Linked DNA regions of Homo sapiens: region 1 is linked to region 2. Evidence: promoter capture Hi-C in 16 types of primary human blood cells and fetal thymus (Javierre and others, 2016). All regions are on one chromosome and are shown on one strand. The core of a region is centred on a gene start or on the middle of the fragment in contact, and the rest is flanking DNA. Distances in the headings are between cores, read along the strand shown.

Region 1 (7,488 bases), core at 649-3,148, 2.8 Mb after region 2:
TGCATCCAAGAAATTTCACTGGAGGCAAACTTTACCTGTTTGCTACTTTTCTGTTGAAAATGTCAACTAAGTCAGCTTTAAAGTGACATAATAAAGCCATACTTGTATCCCTCAGTCCAAACTGATCAAGAATTACTGTTAAATATAAAAGCCAGTGTGTATTCTAGGTTGTATTCTTACACAAAATAGTACAAACACTTGCGGGTTGGATGATAATATTCCATTTTCTGTCTACTTGGAAACTAAGTTTTTAAATGAAATTAAAATGTTTCCTTGACTGAAGTTAAACAACAATAATTGCTATCTAAGTATCCTAATCACAATAAATAAATGAGTGAATGATGAATGAGCTATTTATCACAGAATTGTGAAGGACCAAGATCCCTCAATGTAATCATTCTATTACATTGAACACAAGATGCAGACAATGAGATCATCTCATAAAAGATTTAGGGGAAAGACAATTTGCAAGAATGTTCTATGCAAATACCAGGACTTGTCACTTTATCAGCAAATGACAGCATCCTCGTTAGCCCTGCCTTTGTGCAGCCAGTAATCACGAAAAACATTTGCATGATGCTTTTAGCCATTTGTTTTACTTAACTGGCACAACAACCCTCGGAGAGTAAAGGCCAGGAATTATTGCATCATTATCCATTTGACATCTTAGGAAGCAGAGGCTCAGAACAGGGAAGTGACTTGCCCAAAGTCAACAGGCTGGTGGGTGGCAGAGCTGGGGCTCAAAGCCAGATCTTCTAATACCAGATCTCATCTTCTTTCCTCTGCATTCCCTGCTTCTCCAGGTAAGCGATGCCAGGGCAGGCTCAGGCATTCTAGAAGAGAGGAAGAAAAGAAGGCAACAGGAACTAGGAGAGAGAAGGACGTGGACAGGAGGAGGTGTTTGACTAGAAGTGCGTCCAACCAGGCCGGGCACAGTGGCTTACGCCTGTAATCCCAGCACTTTGAGAGGCCGAGGCGGGAGGATCACCTGAGGTCAGGAGTTCGGGACCAGCCTGGCCAACATGGTGAAACCCCGTCTACTAAAAATACAAAAATTAGCTGGGCGTGGTGGTGCACGCCTGTAGTCCCAGCTACTCGGGAGGCTGAAGCACGAGAATCGCTTGAACCTGGGAGGCGCAGGTTGCAGTGAGCGAAGATCGCGCCATTGCATTGCAGCCTGGGTGACAGAGCGAGACTCTGTCTCAAAAAAAAAAAAAAAAAAAAGGTCCAACGGCTCTCCATTGCCCCCAAACATCCCTCAAGTGACAACAGTGCCACAAGTTCCCCTGCCCCTGGGTCTGCAGCCAATGTTATTTTATCAGTTGAGAATCATGTCAGAAAATTAAATACTCAAAAGAAATCTCAAGATTTCCCAGCTCTGAGGTTCTGACAGCTGAACTTGGCCCCTCCCACCAAGGCCCGTGGTCACATTCAAAGCCTCGGGAGCCGAAGCCACCGCGAAGCGTGGGGGAATGAGGCGAAGAGGGTTTGTGACGGTGGTGGGGATCCGGGCTAAGGAGAGGGGGTGCCTGCGGCGGAGCTGTGGTTGGGGGTTGTGGGTTTTGTGGCTGAACTCGATGGTGGGGTAAGAAACCAGGATCGGGGCTGGGTAGGGTGGCGTTTACACGTCCAGGAAGGTCTGGGGGAGCTGAGCGGCTGAGACAGCCAGAGAAAGACCCGGGAATGGGCGAGGCGGGGGGTTCCGGAGCCCTGGAACGCGGGCGAGCCCCTCTCGGGCGCCCGGGATTGGGCGCTCCCCGGAGCCCCTCCTCTCCAGAGCCCCTCTCCTCAGGCCCCGCCCACAACGCCAGGCGCGCGCCGGGCCGCGGGGAAGGGGACCTGGCCGGCGCGGGGGAGGGGGAGAGGGAGGCTCGTGCACGCGCCTCACTAGCTGCGGGTGCGCGAGCCGCGCGCTCCCGCCGCCCGCGTCGCCATCTTTTTCCCCCTCCGTCTGTCTGTCTGCTGTTGGCTTTGTCCGTCTGCAGCGCCGCCCCTCGGCTCCCCGCCACCGGCTCGGCTCGGCCCGGAGCCCCTTCCGCTCGCCGGGGCCCAGTCCCGGAGCGCCCCGGCCCGGCTGGCTTGGGCTGCGGTCCCGGGTCCATTGTCCGGCGGTCCGTCTGTCCGGAGGCGGGGCCCAGGGACCCAGAGCGCAGCGCAGCGCCGAGGCGCCGGGTAAAAAGACCCCCTGCCCTCCCTCCGGGTCCGGGCTGGGGATGCGGGCTCCTCGCCCCCTCGCGGCCGCCGGCTGTTGGTCCTTTTGTCTGCACTGGGGAGAGGGCCGGGGGCCAGCTCCGGCCTAGGGGGGCAGCCCGGGCTCACCCTCCCCGCTTCCAACCCCAATTCCTCCCCGGCCGCTCCTCCTGCTGCCCCTTGGCGCTCTCGGGCGCGGGGCGCGGGGTGCGGGGCCGGGGGGCTTTTGCGCGGGCCGCGGGCACCCCGCCTCCTCGGGCCCCGGCGGGGACGGCCCCGGCGTCTGACAGCCTTGGGTGGAGCTGGGGGAGGGGAGGATGGGCGTGGGCGTGCAGACCGGGGGGTATCAGTCCCCGCGTCTGGGTCTCGCAGAAAAGCTTCTAAATTTAGATTTCGGAGATTGTGTTGTCTAAGGGTTTGTCTGAGCCGCCTCGGAAGACCTCCGGCTCTTGTCAGGCTCTTGTCTGGTAATTCCTGGGAATTTACCTGGGCTCATGCTTGAAGAAGCAGAGGGACCATCTCGGCTGATTAGACACGCCCCAGACCCAACCCCAGGGGTCAGGTGAACAGCCAGGCGGCTAAGTGACCAGCTTTCTTGTCCTCTCCTTTTTGGCAGATACAGATCACTTGGATTCAGTCGAGTTTGCTTTGCTCCGTGGGAACTGCACCAGAGCTGGAGGTGGGAACGCACTCTCTTTTCATCAAGCTGAGATTTCACTCGTTTTTTTTCTTGCCAAAGTCTGTGGTGTGCCCTAGACGCTGCAACCTAATACCTGTGGGAGAGCAGAGACAGTGTTCAGGGGAGACGTTGCACCTTCCCGAGGACTCTTAACCTTGCTCTGAAGACAGACAGAACTGCTTTCCTTTTAAAATGGAATCCCTTTAGACCTGAATCTCACCGTTTACCTGTCTTCCCAGCCCATGTTCAGGCAGCTATCTATTTACATTTTTGGTTTGGTTTGGTTTCAGGTTTTGGCTTGGAAATTGAGGCAGTGTTAAAAGTAAAACAAAATGAGTGACCTTTAGGGCTGTATGTCTCTGGGTTTTATTAGCTTTAACTGCCTATAAAACAAGTCATCTGGCCTCTGAGATCTTGCTTTGTGGTCAAGAGTGTCCTTTCAGCGCCATTTATTTATTTACTTATTGATTTTCAACAGCCCATGACCCCACAGGCCTGTTTTTGTGGGTGTTTTTGTTATTATTTTCGTTTCGTTGTGTGGGAGGGGACTGTAATTGCTTATTTTTCTCTTGATCACTCAGGTGTGAAGTCCCATTGGGTACCATCTGGTCAGTTCCCCATTTGGCCACTAGGAGGATTATAAGATGCAGCGGGCATTGCTGATTTAAATACGCAGACACTCATCTCTGTCTTTTGACTTGGAGCTTTAATATTGAAATGTTGTCTGGTTCAAATTATTTGGCCTTCCTTCAGAAGGGACTTTATTACCTTTATCTTACAGTTTCAGTTTCTGATCTTGAAGGGAGAAAATATAAAAATTAGTCAAGATTCTGTTTTTTCTTCTATAATAGAGTATATATATATTTAGCCTCAATAGATTATCACATTAGAGGAGTATATTTTATTTTTTTAAATTTTTATTTATCTTTTTTTTTTTTTTTTGAGACGGAGTCTCGTTCTGTCGCCCAGGCTGGAGTGCAGTGGTGCGTTCTTGGCTCACTGCAACCTCCGCCTCCCGGGTTCAAGCAATTCCCTGCCTCAACCTCCTGAGTAGCTGAGATTACAGACATGCATCACCACGCCCAGCTAGTTTTTGTATTTTTAGTACAGACGGGGTTTCACCATGTTGGCCAGGCTGTTCTCAAACTCCCGACCTCAGGTGATCCACCCGCCTCAGCCTCCCAAAGTGCTGGGATTACAGGCGAGAGCCACCGCCCATGGCAGTTTTTTATCTTTTTTTGAGATGGAGTCTCACTCTGTTGCCCAAGCTGCAGTGTAGTGCCTCCATCCCAGCTCACTGCAACCTCCCCTCCCCAGGTTCAAGCGATTCTCATGCCTCAGCTTCCCGAGTAGCTGGAATTTACAGGTGTGCACCACCATGCCCAGCTAATTTTTGTATTTTTATTAGAGGTTTCCCCATATTGGCCAGGCTGGTCTCAAACTCCTGGCCTCAAGTGATCTGCCTGCCTTGGCCTCCCAAAGTGTTGGGATTACAGGCGTGAGCCACGGTGCCTGGCCATATTTTTAAAAATATTAATAGAGCCTGCATTTCATTACCTTTCCACTTGGTGATTCCACACACATATAGGAAATCCAAAGTGTGATATTCATTCACTGCTTCCGTGAATAAAACAACTACTTGATTAGAAAAAAATGACATACACAAAACTTAGAGAACATACACTATCAGCACTCAGTATATTGCCCTCTAAATAGTTTAAATTGATTTTTATTGTATACATTTAGAGTTTTGTTTTGTTTTGTTTTTAATTAAAGGTCTGAAAAAGAACTGTGTTTGATATGCAGATATGCTAGAAGACTGCCTGAAAGCTGCTTCCTTTGCCACTTCCTGTGGAGGCCTGTCTTTGCCATTTGCGGTTTCTTTATTCTTTTGGTAAGGGGAGGCAGGATCTGATTATAGGTTTGAGGTCCTTCTAGCTACATAGAGGAGTTAGTTGGCATAACAGGAGGTGAGTCTTCATTAACTGGAGTACAAAATATAGCTAGCAGTAGTCTCCCATAACTCCTCTTAAGGCAATAAACTATGATTTTATGTTTGCTTATTCAATGTGAGTATAACTCAAGAAGGCAGGAACTGAAAGAAAACTTAAGAGTGTGACCAGATCCATATTCCTGTCTTTGGTAGGAAAGACAATCCCTTTTTATTCTATGTCTTTATTCACTCTTTCTAAGAAAATGACACAGCTATCAATACTAATCCATCTCAGATTCTCTAACAATGCTTAAGGCTGGGGCACTCTTTCTGTAGTTAATCAGGAACCTTCAGGCTTACGTATATATCCCCTCCTATATGGGGTGGGGAGCAGATGCATGTCTTGGCAGCATTTTTCGTTTGGGGAACTTTTCTCTTTATTCCTCCCACTGTTCTCTTTGCTACCCAGAGGCTAGATTGAGAAGAGCCTCTAAAGTTATTAACTTTGACCACCTCTCTGGAATGTGTGAGGAGGGCCAGGTGGTATTCCACACTGGGGTGTTGAATTAGTACTCATCAATGTGGATGGCATCTGTCTCTTCTGGTGAGAGCCCATCTTCAACATTAGAAGTTTGATTTGCTTAGTGCCATGTCATTCACAGTGCAGCATAGCATTGCGCCTGTATCACCAGATAGAGGCTTTATTTCCCATGCTGTTCTCATTTACAGATGCCTATTTGAGACATTTTCTGTCTCGCAGGGATGTGATGCCTTTGCTACCTCTAGGCAAGATAACATCATGAAAAATCCGCTGGTGTAGACTGCAGGGCTTGACTTCCAGTGGGCATGTGACATGTGAGCTGCCACCCTCTTTGGCTTCCTTTTGCTTCCTTTTGCAATTCATCGGAGTTATCCCCTTGAGCCCACAGTACTTCTAACCCTGGATGCCTGAGTTTTACTTCCTCTTTTATCCTGTGACCTTGATCATGATCACTTAACAGTATTCTGGATTCCAAAGATGGATTTAGAGTATAATTCTCTAAGTCCTCTGAGGGAGTCCCCTCTTAAACTTTCTGGGACCTTGACGTTAGGCTAGAGATTTATTCATTTCTTTCTTTCTTTCATTAGTTCAATTATTTATAACTGGTGAGTTTTATATGCTCAGGAGCTGTTTTTTAAGGACATTTTATCTTTAAATTTTGTGTAACTGCTGGGGAAAATGACATGTGCTAACAATAACCTTTTTTATTGCAGGTTAGCATCTTGCAAGGAGGTAGTAACATATCCAGTCGTGAAACTGGGAAAGACCAGAGCTCTTGCATCAGGGAAACATGTCCCGTCGGAAACAGACAAATCCAAATAAAGTTCACTGTGAGTATCGGGCTTTGTCTTCTGGAACCTGGGAATGCTAAGGGGTGGAATGGAAGAGTAACCTGAATTTAGGGGAGAAGCTCACGCTAATTTGTGAAGAAGAAAAGTTTAAATGTAAAACACAGTTTGCTGAGCAGAAGAGAAAAAAAGAAAGAAAGAAAAAGGGTTAAAAATGTTGGAAATGGTGGATTTAAAGTGTGTCTGGTTGCTGGGGGAGGTGTTGGAAACCTATCTTAGGGGTATGTACACTTGATATATCTTTAATATCACATTAACAAACAGTTATAGGATACCTACTCTCTGCAGATCCTTGTGCTAGATGTCAGGGCTCTAAACCAATATAAGATCTATAAGACCGTATTGTAACCTCAGATATATAAATATGAATGATAGTATATGCTAATTGCCAAACAGATGCTGCAGACTGTATGTACTAGAGAAGTTCGGAGGAAGGAAGTTAAAAGAGCTCAGTGGACTGAAGTAGCAAGGGGAATGCTTAATGGAAAAGCCTCTAGACCATGCGCCTGAACTGGGCCTTAGAGGGTAGAAAATGGATTTGAAAAAAAAAATTAAAAAACAAGAGGCAGGGAGAGGGAACATCAGGTAGGGAAAGTGAAGTGAGCAAAGACAGAAGCGGGAATCCACATGTTCAGAGGACAAGGAGACTTTATATGAAGCAGAGGTCTCATTTGTTCAAAAGTCAGAAGATGTGAGGTTAGAGATGCTTAACTCTACACGTGGAAGGCTGAATGCCAGGCCAAGTTCAAAGTTCATTCTATAGTCCGTAGGGAACTACTGAAGGTTTTTAAGCAGGGAGAGGGGAGTGACATTTAGAATACAGCGTTTTGGTACTATGAAGCAATTTGTGGGATGGATCACAAGAGGGAGAGGCTAGAAACCAGAAGGCCAAGTATACACTATTACCTTGTGTTGTTTTCAACAGTGTCACATGCATGTTTTTCTTTGCTTTTTTTTTTTTTTTTGAGACAGAGTCTCGCTCTGTCACCCAGGCTGGAGTGTAGCAGTGTGATCTCTGCAACATCGGCCTCCTGGCTTCAAGCAATTCTCCTGCTGCAACCTGCCGAGTAGCTGGGATTAAGGTGCTCGCCACCATGCCCAGCTAATTTTTTTGTATTTTTAGTAGAGACAGGGTTTCACCATGTTGGCGAGGCTGGCCTTGAACTCCTGACCTCAGGTGATCTGGCCACCTCGGGCTCCCAAAGTGCTGGGATTACAGGCATGAGCCACCGCACCTGTTGCATATTTTATTTCAGTAATTGCATAGTAAACTTCTAGAAGGCAGAGACTATGTGCC
Region 2 (6,660 bases), core at 4,008-6,507:
CTGTATGCCAGTTCCAAGCCTAGGTTTCAAGAGGCCTTATAAATGTCTGTTGGAACCTTACCCAGCCATGAACATGTTGAGTGAGCATGCTGGAGAATGAGAGACCACATGAAGCAGAAACATGCTTTCCTAGCTGAAGTCATACTAGCCCAACCAACATGGCAGCTAACACATGAATGAGGCCAATCAAGACCAGAAGAACCACTCAAGCAGATCCCAGCCCAAATTGCCCATTCACACAATCAGGAGCTAAATAAATTACTGTTGTCTTAACACTAAGTTTTGTGGTGGTTTTTTACACAACAGAAGTAACTAGGCAGAAACTGTTCAATTCTTCCTCTTGCCCAAGGAATCAAGTACAAACTTCCTATTTGGATATCCATAGCCTTATGGATATCCCCCATACCATACTTTCCAACCTGACTTTCCAATCAGATGCCAGAGTTCTCCTACCAGAGATTGCAAACTCTAATACCCATAGGGCCTAGGAAGGAAACTAAATGAATGATTTGAACCTGGAGGGGGCTTCAGTGGGCAGATGAGCAAGAACAGCGTCTCCTCAACTCCAGTCTATACTTTGTCACATAGAATGGGATCCCAACATTTCTAGAGCTTTCCATTTTGTCAAAAGAGCTAGAAAGTTGGATTTTTCTGTGATGTCCTTATTTTTAAAGGTCAGTATCTCATTAAAAATTATTTTAGGCTGGGCACGGTGACTCATGCCTGAAATCCCAGCGCTTTGGGAGGCCCAGGCGGGAGGATCATCTGAGGTCAGGAGTTCGAGACCAGCCTTGCCAACATGGTGAAGCCCTGTTTCTACTAAAAATACAAAAATTAGCTGGGTGTGGCTGCCACATGCCTGTAATCCCAGCTACTCGGGAGGCTGAGGCATGAGAATCGTTTGAACCTGGGAGGCGGAGGTTGCAGTGAGGCATGATTGCACCACTGCACTCCAGCCTGAGTGACAGAGTGAGACCCTGTCTCAAAAAAAAAATTATTTTAATGCTGATAAGACAAACAAAATATGTCCACATAGGAGCTGCCAGATTTTAATCCCTGCCAGACTCAAACCCATGTTTGTGGTGCTTTCATTCTAGATTTCTTTTTTTAAGACGGAGTCTTGCTCTGTCACGCCCAGGCTGGAGTGCAGTGGTGCAATCTTGGCTCACTGGAACCTCTGCCTCCTGGGTTCAAGCGATTCTCCTGCCTCAGCCTCCTAAGTAGTTGGGATTACAGGTGCTCACCATCACACCCGGCTAACTTTTTGTATTTTTTAGTAGAGATGGGGGTTTCACCATGTTGGTCAGGCTGGTCTCGAACTCCTGACCTCAGGTGATCCACCCGCCTCGGCCTCCTGAAGTGCTGGGATTACAGGTGTGAGCCACCGCGCCCGGCCTAGAGTTTCACTCTTGTTGGCCAGGCTGGAGTGCAGTGGCGCAATCTCGGCTCACTGCAACCTCCGCCTTGCAGGTTCAAGCGATTCTCCTGTCTCAGCCTCCCAAGTGTCTGGGATTACAGGTGTGTGCCACCACACCTGGCTAATTTTTGTATTTTTAGTAGAGACAGCATTTCACCATGTTGGTCAGGCTGGTCTCGAACTCCTGACCTCAAGTGATCTGCCCACCTCGGCCTCCCAAAGTGCTGGGGTTACAGACATGAGCCACCACACCTGGTCTCATTTTAGATCTTATACCTTTGTTCATGGTGTGTGCTTTGCCTAGGATACACTAATCCCTGTCTTTAAAGTTACATTTTTTTCAGAACTCATTCTAAATCATTCAACAGCAAATGTGCTGTCCATTGTTTCAATCACTGAGAAGACAGCAATAAAAATACATTTGGGTCTTGTATTCTAGTAATCATCTCTGGTGAAGAAAATTATGGCTGATTTCTATTACTATTATTATTATTATTATGAGACAGGGTTTCACTGTGTTGCCTAGGCTAGTCTTGAACTTCTGGGCGCAAGTGATACTCCCACCTTGGCCTCCCAAAGTGCTGGGATTACAGGCATAAGCCACCACACTCGGCCTTATGTTTTTATCTTTTACTTATCCTTGATTTTTTTAAAACCTAGAACATGGTTTTTTTCTATAAATAAAAAATGCAGAAGAATATAAACTTAATATGATTATTTTGTAGAACTTACTGGCAGGTATTACTATTTTACTATTTTCCTTCCTTCCTTTTTTCTTTTTTCTTTTTTTTCAGAGGCAGGGTCTGCTGGTCTGGAACTCCTGACCTCAAGGGATCCGCCCACCTTGTCCTCCCAAAGTGCTGGGATTACAGGCATGAGCCACCATGCCCAGCCACTGTTTTCATCTTTAAAATCATTTGTTCTATTTACTGTAGGAGTTACAGTGAAAATTCTCCCTGGTAGATGAATTATTCATACTCTGGCAGACCCACAATTATTATAGGTGAATTTACTATAAGCCTGATAAAGCTTAATCTTCAGGGCCTTTTACTTGCACAGGATGCCTTCCAAGGCCCTGTACCTGATTTTTCCCAACACTTATGTATGAAAATTTCCAGATACACAGAAAAGTCAGTACAATTGTACTCTGAACAACCATATACCTACCACCTAAATTCTACAACTAACAATTTATTATATTTGTTTTATCACATACCTATTTATCTGCTTGTGCCTCTTTCTAGCCATTAATTCATCCTGATTTTTTATGCACTTCATTCCTAAACACTTCAGCATTTATGCCATTAACTGGAGTTTATCTCTCTATGAGCTTTTTTTTGGCGGGGGGGTGGGAAGGTAAGTTTTTGCTGTGAAAAATTTGTGTGAAATGCACAAATCTTAAAGATAGCATTTGATGAGTTTTGACAAATGCATACATATGAGTAATCCAAACTCTATCAAGATCATGAACATTATGGCCGGGCGCGGTGGCTCACGCCTATAATCCCAGCACTTTGGGAGGCCAAGGCGGGTGGATCACCTGAGGTCAGGAGTTCAGGACCAGCCTGGCCAACATAGTGAAACCCCACCGCTACTAAAAATACAAAAATTAGGTGGGCGTAGTGGCACGTGCCTGTGATCCCAGCTACTCAGGAGGCTGAGGCAGGAGAATCACTTGAACCCAGGAGGTGGAGGTTGCAGTGAGCCGAAATCATGCCATTGCACTCCAGCCTGGGCAACAGAGCGAGACCCTGTCTAAAAAAAAAAAAGTTCTAGAGCTAAAAAAGATTATTCATATGGCACAAAGTGATCTCCTACTAGTCCAAAGTTCAAAAACATTTTAATAAAGTCCATTCATATATCTTTTGTTTGCTTTCCAATGGAATACTACGTTTATTGAGGCAAAATCACATTATTTTTAGTTCTTGGAGTCAAAAAGCGTACACGAATGTTCTTCAACACAGTTACTAAAAATACAAGACCAAGTTGAATGTGCCAAAGAGATACCATTCAGTTGGGTTTTCTAGAGTCATCAGGAAGAATATTAGAGAAGGGATTTACATGGTTGGTTTCCATAGCTTGATAGACCAAACACACACAAAAAAACTGCCACAACAACAAACAGCAAAATTTTTATCCATACAGGAATGGAGCGTCCCTTTTTTTTGTATTTTCTCACTTGACGTCTGCCAAGGGAACATACTTAGGAACATATGTAGATGAAAACGACTCCTCCATCCTCAAATCACTGAGTTCTAATGGCCGGCCTGCAGCTCCTTTGATTGTTCTGCGGCAACTAGCACTAATTCTTGTTGGTGTAGTTGCTTCATAGGGGAACATTTCCTTAAGAATATCCCTTTCTACTCTTCTTTCCTGTGTTTTTTTTCTCCCACTTCAGCTCTTGTCAATGGTTTCTTTGGTGTTCTTCTGGGTATGTCTGAGAATTCAGTGACTGGCAGAATAGGAAATGCATGCTTGAAATTTCCAGTCACCCTATTGACAATTAAGGATTCGTTGTTTGAAGCAATTATAGTTTCAGCTATGGGAGTACTCGCTGAAATTACTGCTCCATCTATACGAAAATATTCTGAAGCGTGCACCCTTTTGCTTGGAGTTCTTCTTGACCCTCTTGTAGATTCCCTAGTTAATAATGCCTGCAGAGGTCCGCCTTTTGAAGATCCACTTGTCCATTCAGTCCCAGTTATTCCAGCTTGAGAATAGCTCTCCTTGTGCTCAACTCTTCTTTGCTTGAGGGTTACTGGAGTCTTTACTCCCCTGTTTAGCGGTTCTCTCTTCTCAAACTTGAGCCCAATTTAGAGTCTTCTTCATTTTCACCATATCTGTCAGAATCATTACTTCCATTCTGCCTTGTATTTTCTGCTGAAGAAGAAATTGTTGCTGAAGGAGACGATCTTGATTCTGTTCCTTGCTCCCTCAGTTTCAAAAGCTATTTCTCATACAGCTTCCTGGTTGTTCCCACAATAGGACCACAATTCACTCCGTATTTCACAAGCTGATCCAAAGGATCTTCATTAGTGAGTTCTGTTACATCTAGATCGTCTTTATCATCTTGTCTGGGTTTATCAGTTTTCTTTGTGGCTTTCCTGCCGGCGGCGGGCTCGGAGCCGAGACGGCTGTGGGCTCGCGCTCCTCGTACGTAGCTGGAGAATTCCGGGGGCCCCTTTCTTTTGGCGCTGGCGGCGAGCGGCGGCCCTAACAAGTGATTTGAGACTGTTCAGTAGCTCAGATCCCTTGCAGCGGTTTGAGATTGAAGAGATTATGTAGGCAAAGTATTTTGCGTGAGCTCTTCAACCCCATGAGAGGATACATATGAACTGGACTGTCCTACGCCTCTTTACAGGCTCCGAAATTCAAAATATTGAAATATTTTGAAATTATTCGATTAGCTGCTATCCTTTGGATACAGATAACTCCTTCACTAAAGCGTTAGGGATAAGCAGCAGGAGTCAGTTTTAATATCATCATCCCCATTCCAAAATGGACCGAGAAATCATATAACTTTCTCCCGCCAGAAAGTTCAAATAAAACGCGCTAAAAAAAAAAAAAAAAACCAAACAAAAAAAAAACAAAAAAACCTCCCATTTTTTCCGGGGCGGGTGCAAGGTGACGGACGTAGATTCCTGCCAATTGTAGGAGGCTTCCTCAAGCGCGGTCCCGCCTCGTCAGGACGAACTACCAGCCAATGAGAGCACCGCTGCTTCAGCTATCGGGGGACCCATTGAAGAAGAAGAGTGGGTATTGGCCACAGCGTAGGGCTTCTGTCCAATAGGAGCATGCCTGCCGGCGGCTCTGGCGGGAGCTTGAGCGGCTCCGGAAGTGGCAGTTGGCGTAGGTGCATTCGGAGTGCGGCCGAGGTAACTACCGAGTCTTCGGCGGGCTCGCGAGCCCGGCCGCGGCCTGCTGGTTTCAGGTGAGGAGGGGTGTTGCTTCTCCTCAGGCCTTGGGCCTCTAGCTTCGGGATAAACCTCCCCACGCCTGATTCCTGGATTGGGATTCAGGAGACACCCCACGAGGTGGGCTGCACGCGGGCTTGGAACCCGGCGGCCTGAGGGGATTCGGGCCCTCGGGGCGGCGCCAGTGGTCGGGGCTAAGGAGCCCGAACCCCCGCGCGTATCTGGGTTGCTGGGCGTGGGGGCTGGGCAGGCGAGAGCTCGGGGCGATCACTGAAGGAGCCGAGTTCGCTGCTGCGGGGCCTGCCCTGGCCGGGGTGGGAGGTCGCCCGGCCCTTCCCCCGAGAGCCTAGCCTCGGGCTCCTCAGCGGCGTTGCCTGCGCCCGCTCTGAGCGCCGATTACTTCATCACTTTAAAGTTGATGGAAGAACTTCATTTTTAATTTCATCACGGAAACTGTGGAGTAAAGACTTGTATTATCCCTGTTTTACAGGAGAACAAGTTGAGCCGAGTTTAGGAAACCCGCCCAAAGTTTCCCCATGTAGTAAAAGAACAGGGATTTAATATCTATGTATCTAATCAATCTATCTATCTATCTATCTATCTATCTATCTATCTATCTAATCTGTCTATCTAATCTATCTATGTCTTTCTTTCCCCATGTAGTAAAAGAACAGGGATTTAATTTCCTTCTTTCCCTCTCTCCCTTCCCCTCCCGTCTCCCTCTCCCTCCTCTTCCCCCTCCGCCTCTCCCTCTCCCTCTCTCTTCCTCCCTTTTTCCTGTTATAAAGAGAAAAAGGTGTTATAAAGAGAAAAGCGGTGGCTCAGGCCTGTAATCCCAGCACTTTGGGAGGCCGAGGCAGTCGGATCACCTGAGGCCAGGAGTTCGAGACCAGCCTGACCAACATGGAGAAACCCCATTTCCCAGCTACTCGGGAGGCTGAGGCAGGAGAATCGCTTGAACCCGGGAGGCCGAGGTTGCAGTGAGCTGAGATCACGCCATTGCACTCCAGCCTGGGCAACAAGAGTGAAACTCCATCTCAAAAAAAGAAAGAAAGAAAGAAAGAAAAGTCTCCCTGTTGCACCCAGGCTGGAAGAGCTCACTGCAGTCTCGAACTCCCGGGCCCCAGGGATCCTCCCACCTCGGCTTCCCGCAATAGCTGGGACCACAGGTGCGCGCCACCACGCCCGGCTCATTGTTTTATTTTTCTTTTTTCTTTCTTTTTTTGAGATAGAGTCTCGCTTTGTTGCCCCTGCTGGAGTGCAGTGGTGCGATCTCGGCTCACTGCAACCTCTGCCTCCCGGGTTCAAGCGATTCTCCTGCCTCAGCCT

What was found. Contacts are between HindIII fragments. The CHiCAGO score rates a contact against its expected background, and 5 or more counts as called.
Region 1: the fragment with the promoter of ZNF821 here is called in contact with the fragment with the promoter of RFWD3 in region 2 in 1 of 17 cell types (neutrophils); the score reaches 5.4 in neutrophils.

What each region holds. Positions count from the first base shown.
Region 1 is chr16:71,878,592-71,886,079 of GRCh38, reverse strand. It overlaps ZNF821 (zinc finger protein 821), which reads left to right and starts at 1,898. Exons shown (of 8, transcript NM_001201552.2): 1 at 1,898-2,172; 2 at 2,807-2,869; 3 at 6,057-6,173. The coding sequence starts at 6,134. RefSeq lists enhancers at 532-1,032, 2,873-3,072 and silencers at 1,613-2,372, 2,393-2,512. The HindIII fragment of the contact is 5,845 bases long and covers 1-2,569 here.
Region 2 is chr16:74,665,474-74,672,133 of GRCh38, reverse strand. RFWD3 (ring finger and WD repeat domain 3) reads left to right here and starts at 5,257. Exons shown (of 13, transcript NM_018124.4): 1 at 5,257-5,348. MLKL (mixed lineage kinase domain like pseudokinase) reads left to right here. Exons shown (of 11, transcript NM_152649.4): 11 at 1-279. It also overlaps the pseudogene TMPOP2. RefSeq lists a silencer at 5,578-5,727. The HindIII fragment of the contact is 4,771 bases long and covers 2,449-6,660 here.